Linked DNA regions of Homo sapiens: region 1 is linked to region 2. The links are contacts of gene promoters, found by promoter capture Hi-C in blood cells and fetal thymus (Javierre and others, 2016). All regions are on one chromosome and are shown on one strand. The core of a region is centred on a gene start or on the middle of the fragment in contact, and the rest is flanking DNA. Distances in the headings are between cores, read along the strand shown.

Region 1 (3,155 bases), core at 439-2,938, 260 kb before region 2:
TACATTGCACCATATTTGCAATCTTTTATCCCTCGCCACCCCCCACTCTTGCCCCCAAGTCCCCAACGTCCATTGTATAGGATTTTTGAATTTGTGAATTAATGCCTTTACATCACTTTGAGCATATCCTCAGCTATAATGTTCTCCAATGTTGCTTCTGTTCCATTGTATTTCTATAGTATTATTTTAGTACTCTAATTAAACATATTTTAATCTTATTACTCTATCCCATCTATTTCTACCTTTTATTTTAACACCTTTTGCTCTTTGGGCTTTATTGTGGATAGTTCACCCACCTTAAAGTTTAATAATTCTCTCTTCTTGCTGTTGTCTGAATTTGTACCCCCAAATTCATGTGTTGAAAATTCAATCCCTTATACAACAGTGTTGGGAGGTGGGGAATTTCAGGAAATGTTTAGATTATGAGGGATCTGCCCTCATGAATAAATTAACGGCACTGTAAAAGGACTTGATGGAAGGAGCCTGTCCCTCTCTTATGCTTTTGGCTCTGTCATGTGACGATGCAGCAAGAAGATCTTCACCAGATGCTGGTGCCTTGATCTTGGACTTCCCCTAGGCTCCAGAATTGTGAGAAGTAAATTTCCGTTCTCATAAATTACTCAGTCTGTGGCATTCTGTTATAGCAGCACAAATGGTCTAAGATACTTTTATTTATTCTTTTTCAAATTTATTGTTACTTTGTATAATTTCTAGTTTCCTCTCGAAACTTTCAAGCTTGGCATTTATATCTGGAACACAATAAGCTCATGGTTTTAGCGTCTATTTCTGATATGTCCAGTAACTGGGATCCTCATGGGTCTATTCCTGTGGTGTGTTTTAAAATTGTATCTTTATGGTGTTTTGTCTCCACATAAACCTGGTTATCTTTGATTTTGTGCTGAAAGTTGTATTAAACACTTCTTCCTGGAAATAATTTGGGGCTTATAACATTTTCTTTCTCCAGAATGGATTTTAATTGACTTTTGCCAGGCATCTTGGGGCACTAGCAATCATGGGTAATCTTAATCTATTTCAAGCTTCAGGTATTCTAGATAAAACCTCATTATCTAAAATTTACATGTATTCTTTAAGTACGGTTATTCAGTTTCCTAGCCAAACATGAGAGATTGTTTAAGAAGTTCCACCATGACTGGTAGACTCAGGATTCTGACTTTTGTTTCTCTAGTCCTTGGAGACTGTCAAAAGTATATCTCAGTATTCATTCACCTATTTTTTTCCTTTTATTTCCAGTTGGTACATAATAATTGTACATATTTATAGGATACAGAGTGACATTTTGATACATATATACAATGTATAATAATAAAATCAGGGTAATTAGCATATTCATAATCTCAAACATTTACCATTTTTGCATGGTGAACATTTAAAATCCACTCTTCTAGCTTCTTGAAAATATGTAAGAAATTATAGTTAACCATATTTATCCTACAGTGCTACAGTGCTGCAAAACACCACAACCCATTCCTCCTGTGTAGCTATAATTTCGTATCCATTAACCAACCTTTCCCCATCCTCCTTTTCCTTCACCCTTCCCAGCCTCTGATAAGCACAATACTACTTCCATGAGCTCAATAAAATTTTGTAGCTGCCGTATAAGTGAGAACATGTATTTATTTTTCTGTGCCTGACTTATTTCACTTAACATATGCCCTCCAGGCTCAGCCATACTGCCATGAATAACAGGATTTCATTCTTTTTTATGGCTGGATAATATTCCGTTGTGCATATACACCACATTTTCTTTATCCACTCATCTGTTGATGGATATTGAGGTTGATTCCACATAGTAGCTATTGTGAATAGTGCTGCAGTAAGTATGGGAGGTGCAGGTATCACTTTGACATACTGGTTTCCTTTTCTTTGGATAAATGCCCAATAGTGGAATTGCTGGATGATATGGTAGTTCTATTTGTAGTTTTTTGAGGGACTCCCATACTGTTTTCCTTAGTGGCAGTGCTAATTTACATGCCCACCAACAGCATTTATGGGACAGTGGCTCATGCCTGTAATCCCAGCACTTAGGGAGGCAGAGGCAGGAAGATCGCTTGAAGCCAGGAGTTCAAGACCAGCCTGGGCAACATAGCAAGACCCTGTTCTTCACAAAAAAGAAAAAAAAAGCAGTTGTAGAACTCCTTTAAGTATTTCTTGTAGGACTTATCTAGTTGTAGTGTACTTCCTCAGTTTTTGCTTGTTTGGGAAATACTTTATTTCTCCTTCATTTCTGAAGTATAGCTCTGCTTGGTATAGTATTTTTGGCTGATAGTTTTAAAAAATTTCAGCACTTTGGATATATCATCTCATTCTATCCTAGCCTGTAAAGCTTCTGCTGAGAAATCTGCTGTTAGTCTGATGGGAATTTTCTTATAGGTGACTTGTCACTTTTCTTTTACCGTTTTTAGAATTCCCTCCTTGTCTTGAGTCTGGTACCGTAGACTACTCAGCCATCCTGATGCCCTACCTCTTGTATAGAAACAACCCAGATCCAAAGTGGCCAGAAAGTTACTTTACCTTCTGAATTTGTGGTCTTTTTCAGAATCTCTACCTGTTAATTCTGCATGACTTTATTAGTCATTAGATACTTTTATAATTTTAAAATATCTCCAATTGTATGGTTGGTTCAAATTACCAGTTCTGCATACTGGTAATGTAAGTCCTCTGTTGAATTGATTTTTAAATACATTTATTTTATTCCAGTATCTTCTAGCTCCTGGTGTTGCAGATGAGAAGTTTCAAATAACTTGAAATAATTCCCTTCTATGTAATTATCCCTGATTTTGACTTTCTTTCCATAGTTATATATTTTTTCTATGCTATTATATTCTCATTTTAAAGATGTTGAATGACAATGTAATTTTCTTTTCTTTACAAGTGGTAGCTTATTTACAAGTATTTTTGAAGTTTATTTTCCTGGAAAGTTTTCTTAAATTATAGATTTTAGTATTTCTTCTGTTTTATTACTTCAGATTTCTTCTTCAATGGCTCCAATTATATTTGTATTAGATATTCTTTGCTTTTCTTTTGTAGCTAACACTCCTAAATCCTACCTAGCTCTTTTTTAAAAAATATTTTACTTTTTATTCTTGTTTTCATCTTATAGTTTTCTTTAGGCATTATCCATAGTGTTTATATGC
Region 2 (3,570 bases), core at 494-2,993:
TTTTTGGGGTACTTTGAGCTATTATCCTCTTTCTATATAACTACCAATGTTATCAAAGACATTTCAAGGATCTAAATGGAGTTTGACAAATACTGTACTGCTGATAAATTTGCTCTGACGTAAAAAAATAATTCAACAACCTATATTCGAGGATGCCTGGTGGTGCTTCAGAGAAACAGAGTGAATAAAAGACTTTGTGGATGCCGTTAAGCTGGAATCAGAACTCAGAATGCTCACCGAAAGAAGGAAGCATTTAAGATTGAGCAGGAAATAATGGCCTTGTTTCAGCAAAGAGATGACACCAGTCCAATATGTTTATTATTGTTGGTTTATTTCATAATTTCATTTTGTTACATTCTCAAGGAACAGTGTGTTCCCAGTAGCATCTATCAAGTGAACCCTGGAGGCTGGTCACATTCATAATCTTTTGTTTTTCTGGCTACATAGAGGTGATTTTGAACTACAAGATCATCTCAGCTATTCAGAGTTTAGATTTTATTTAGCCTTATTTGTTTTGCCTAGCATTTATGTATTTGAAAATATCTTGATTTTTAATCTTCTATCACCTTGGCCCTTACCTGAAGTGAACTTTGTTTGAACTCAATTGATTTCACCTCTCAATAAATATGAAATTAATCTGAAATGAATTGAATTGTTTGGCATATTTTACCTCTTCTATGTGCACTAATCTATTTCACACATTTTCAGTTTGTTTAGAGATACATGTTCCAATGTATCTGAGTAGAAACTAGTGAGATGGGAATGGATATAGCCATAATATTCCATCATTGAATTCCATGGCATTCACTCAAATGTAACTCACCTGTTTTAACAGTACCTTAATTTGGCCTGTATTTATTGGACTTGGTGTTCTTTTTGCTGTGAGAAGACGGTGAAGGTGATTCTTGAATGTTTGTTTTCTGTGTTGCATCATGTTTGTACAACACGGTAATATATTTGGACCTTGATTAAATAATGTAAGAGGGGAATTTGATCAAAAAATAAAATGCACAAGACTGTTAAAACAATGTCTAATTCTATCCATGCAAAAATGGAGTAGAATCCTAAAATGCTTATGACAACTACTTGATTGCTTCTAGTCCCTCTTTTAAATACTTTAATTTACTTAGATACATGTATCATACGTACTTCTTGGCCTCAGTTTTCCTCCTAATAGCCTAATTGTTCTTTTTACTGTGCAGGCATAACTATATAACAAAGTAGGTTTTTTTTTTCATGCCATTTATGAGTCATATAATTTAGATAATTTATTGTTTATTTTACCATTATTGTTGCTAACAAACTTCGTTGTTTTGCATTGTTTGTTGGGACAATTAAATAGTGTACCTCTTGGACTAATAGATTAAATAGTTCATCAGAGATAAATTGCACTGCTGAAGCATCAAAGGAGAAAGACTGAAGTGTAGAATCTGCACTTCAATCTTTCTCCTTAATTAGCACCACCAGGGAATTTGATTCAAGTTCTAGAGGGGAGTGAACCCAGGAATTGGCTTAAAAACAAAAACATACACACAAAAAAACCAACGCTCGCAAGCAATTATTTATGCATGCGGTCCACGCACTCAGTTTGAGAAACACTGACTCGACTTAAAAGTCTTTATAATGCTCAGATTTCTGAAATGCTATTGACCTGAAAACATCTCATGAAGTTATTAGTTTGAACGCGTGGTGGCGGTACAAGCTAAGAGAGTGAATGAAAGCTCTGCAGACTCGGTGGACTCCGTTTCATCCAGAAGCCAAGTAAAAATACAGACCACGTTTACAGCTAAAGCTGAGATAGATGTGTCCGGGAAGGCAGTCGTCGCCAGACAAGTTGTAAGAACGAATTTAAAAATCTCTGCAAAGACATCCGAGAGGGTCGACGGTAGATGTGGTGATTGGGAGCTGAAAAGGATTTTTCTTCCGTATTCAGACATAATAGACATGATGCAAACTAAAGTACAGAACAAGAAAAGGCAAGTGGCTTTCTTCATTTTATTGATGCTTTGGGGAGAGGTGGGTTCTGAATCGATTCAGTATTCCGTATTGGAGGAGACAGAAAGTGGCACGTTTGTGGCCAACTTGACAAAGGACCTGGGACTGAGGGTGGGGGAGCTGGCTTCGCGGGGCGCTCGGGTTGTTTTCAAAGGGAACAGACAACATTTGCAGTTTGATCCACAGACCCATGATTTACTGCTAAATGAAAAACTGGACCGGGAGGAGCTGTGTGGCTCCACTGAGCCGTGTGTGCTACCTTTCCAAGTGTTACTGGAAAACCCCTTGCAGTTTTTTCAGGCTTCCTTGCGAGTCAGAGATATAAATGACCACGCCCCGGAATTCCCTGCCAGAGAAATGCTCCTGAAAATATCAGAAATTACTATGCCAGGAAAGATATTTCCTTTGAAAATGGCACACGATTTAGACACCGGCAGCAACGGCCTTCAGAGGTACACAATCAGCTCCAACCCTCACTTCCACGTTCTCACCCGCAATCGCAGCGAAGGCAGGAAGTTCCCGGAGCTGGTGCTAGACAAACCGTTGGACCGCGAGGAGCAGCCCCAACTCAGGCTAACGCTGATCGCGCTGGATGGCGGGTCTCCGCCCCGGTCAGGGACCTCCGAGATTCAGATCCAGGTTTTGGACATCAATGACAACGTCCCCGAGTTTGCTCAGGAGCTCTATGAAGCACAAGTCCCTGAGAACAACCCCCTCGGCTCTCTGGTTATTACCGTCTCAGCCAGAGATTTAGATGCAGGATCGTTTGGGAAGGTATCTTACGCCCTGTTTCAAGTCGATGACGTCAACCAACCCTTCGAAATAAACGCAATCACAGGAGAAATTCGGCTGAGAAAGGCTTTGGATTTTGAGGAAATTCAGTCTTATGACGTGGATGTTGAGGCTACAGATGGTGGAGGCCTATCAGGAAAATGCTCTTTAGTCGTCAGGGTCCTGGACGTGAATGACAATGCCCCTGAACTCACCATGTCGTTCTTCATCAGCCTCATCCCAGAAAACTTACCAGAGATCACAGTGGCAGTTTTCAGTGTTTCAGATGCAGACTCTGGACATAACCAACAGGTTATTTGTTCAATAGAGAACAATCTCCCCTTTCTACTAAGACCTTCCGTGGAGAATTTCTACACCCTGGTAACAGAAGGCGCGCTGGACAGAGAGAGCAGAGCCGAGTACAACATCACTATCACGGTCACTGATTTGGGGACACCAAGGCTGAAAACCCAGCAGAGCATAACTGTGCAGGTCTCCGACGTCAATGACAACGCCCCCGCCTTCACCCAAACCTCCTACACCCTGTTCGTCCGCGAGAACAACAGCCCCGCCCTGCACATCGGCAGCGTCAGCGCCACAGACAGAGACTCAGGCATCAACGCCCAGGTCACCTACTCGCTGCTGCCGCCCCAGGACCCGCACCTGCCCCTCTCTTCCCTGGTCTCCATCAACGCGGACAACGGCCACCTGTTTGCCCTCAGGTCGCTGGACTACGAGGCCCTGCAGTCTTTCGAGTTCCGCGTGGGCGCCACAGACCGCGGCTCCCCGGCGTTGAGCAGCGAG

The links. The method cuts DNA at HindIII sites, captures the fragments that hold promoters and counts their contacts. A CHiCAGO score of 5 or more calls a contact.
Region 1: a fragment that was not itself captured here is called in contact with the fragment with the promoter of PCDHB6 in region 2 in 1 of 17 cell types (M0 macrophages); the score reaches 5.6 in M0 macrophages.

The regions. Positions count from the first base shown.
Region 1 is chr5:140,891,366-140,894,520 of GRCh38, forward strand. All of the region lies in intron 1 of PCDHA1 (protocadherin alpha 1), which reads left to right. All of the region lies in intron 1 of PCDHA2 (protocadherin alpha 2), which reads left to right. All of the region lies in intron 1 of PCDHA3 (protocadherin alpha 3), which reads left to right. All of the region lies in intron 1 of PCDHA4 (protocadherin alpha 4), which reads left to right. It also overlaps PCDHA5, PCDHA6, PCDHA7, PCDHA8, PCDHA9 and PCDHA10, and 4 more genes. Among named protein-coding and RNA genes, the nearest start is that of PCDHA13, 11 kb to the left of the region's middle. The HindIII fragment of the contact is 1,307 bases long and covers 1,036-2,342 here.
Region 2 is chr5:141,148,314-141,151,883 of GRCh38, forward strand. PCDHB6 (protocadherin beta 6) reads left to right here and starts at 1,744. Exons shown (of 1, transcript NM_018939.4): 1 at 1,744-3,570. The coding sequence starts at 1,945. It also overlaps PCDHB@. The HindIII fragment of the contact is 6,099 bases long and covers 1-3,570 here.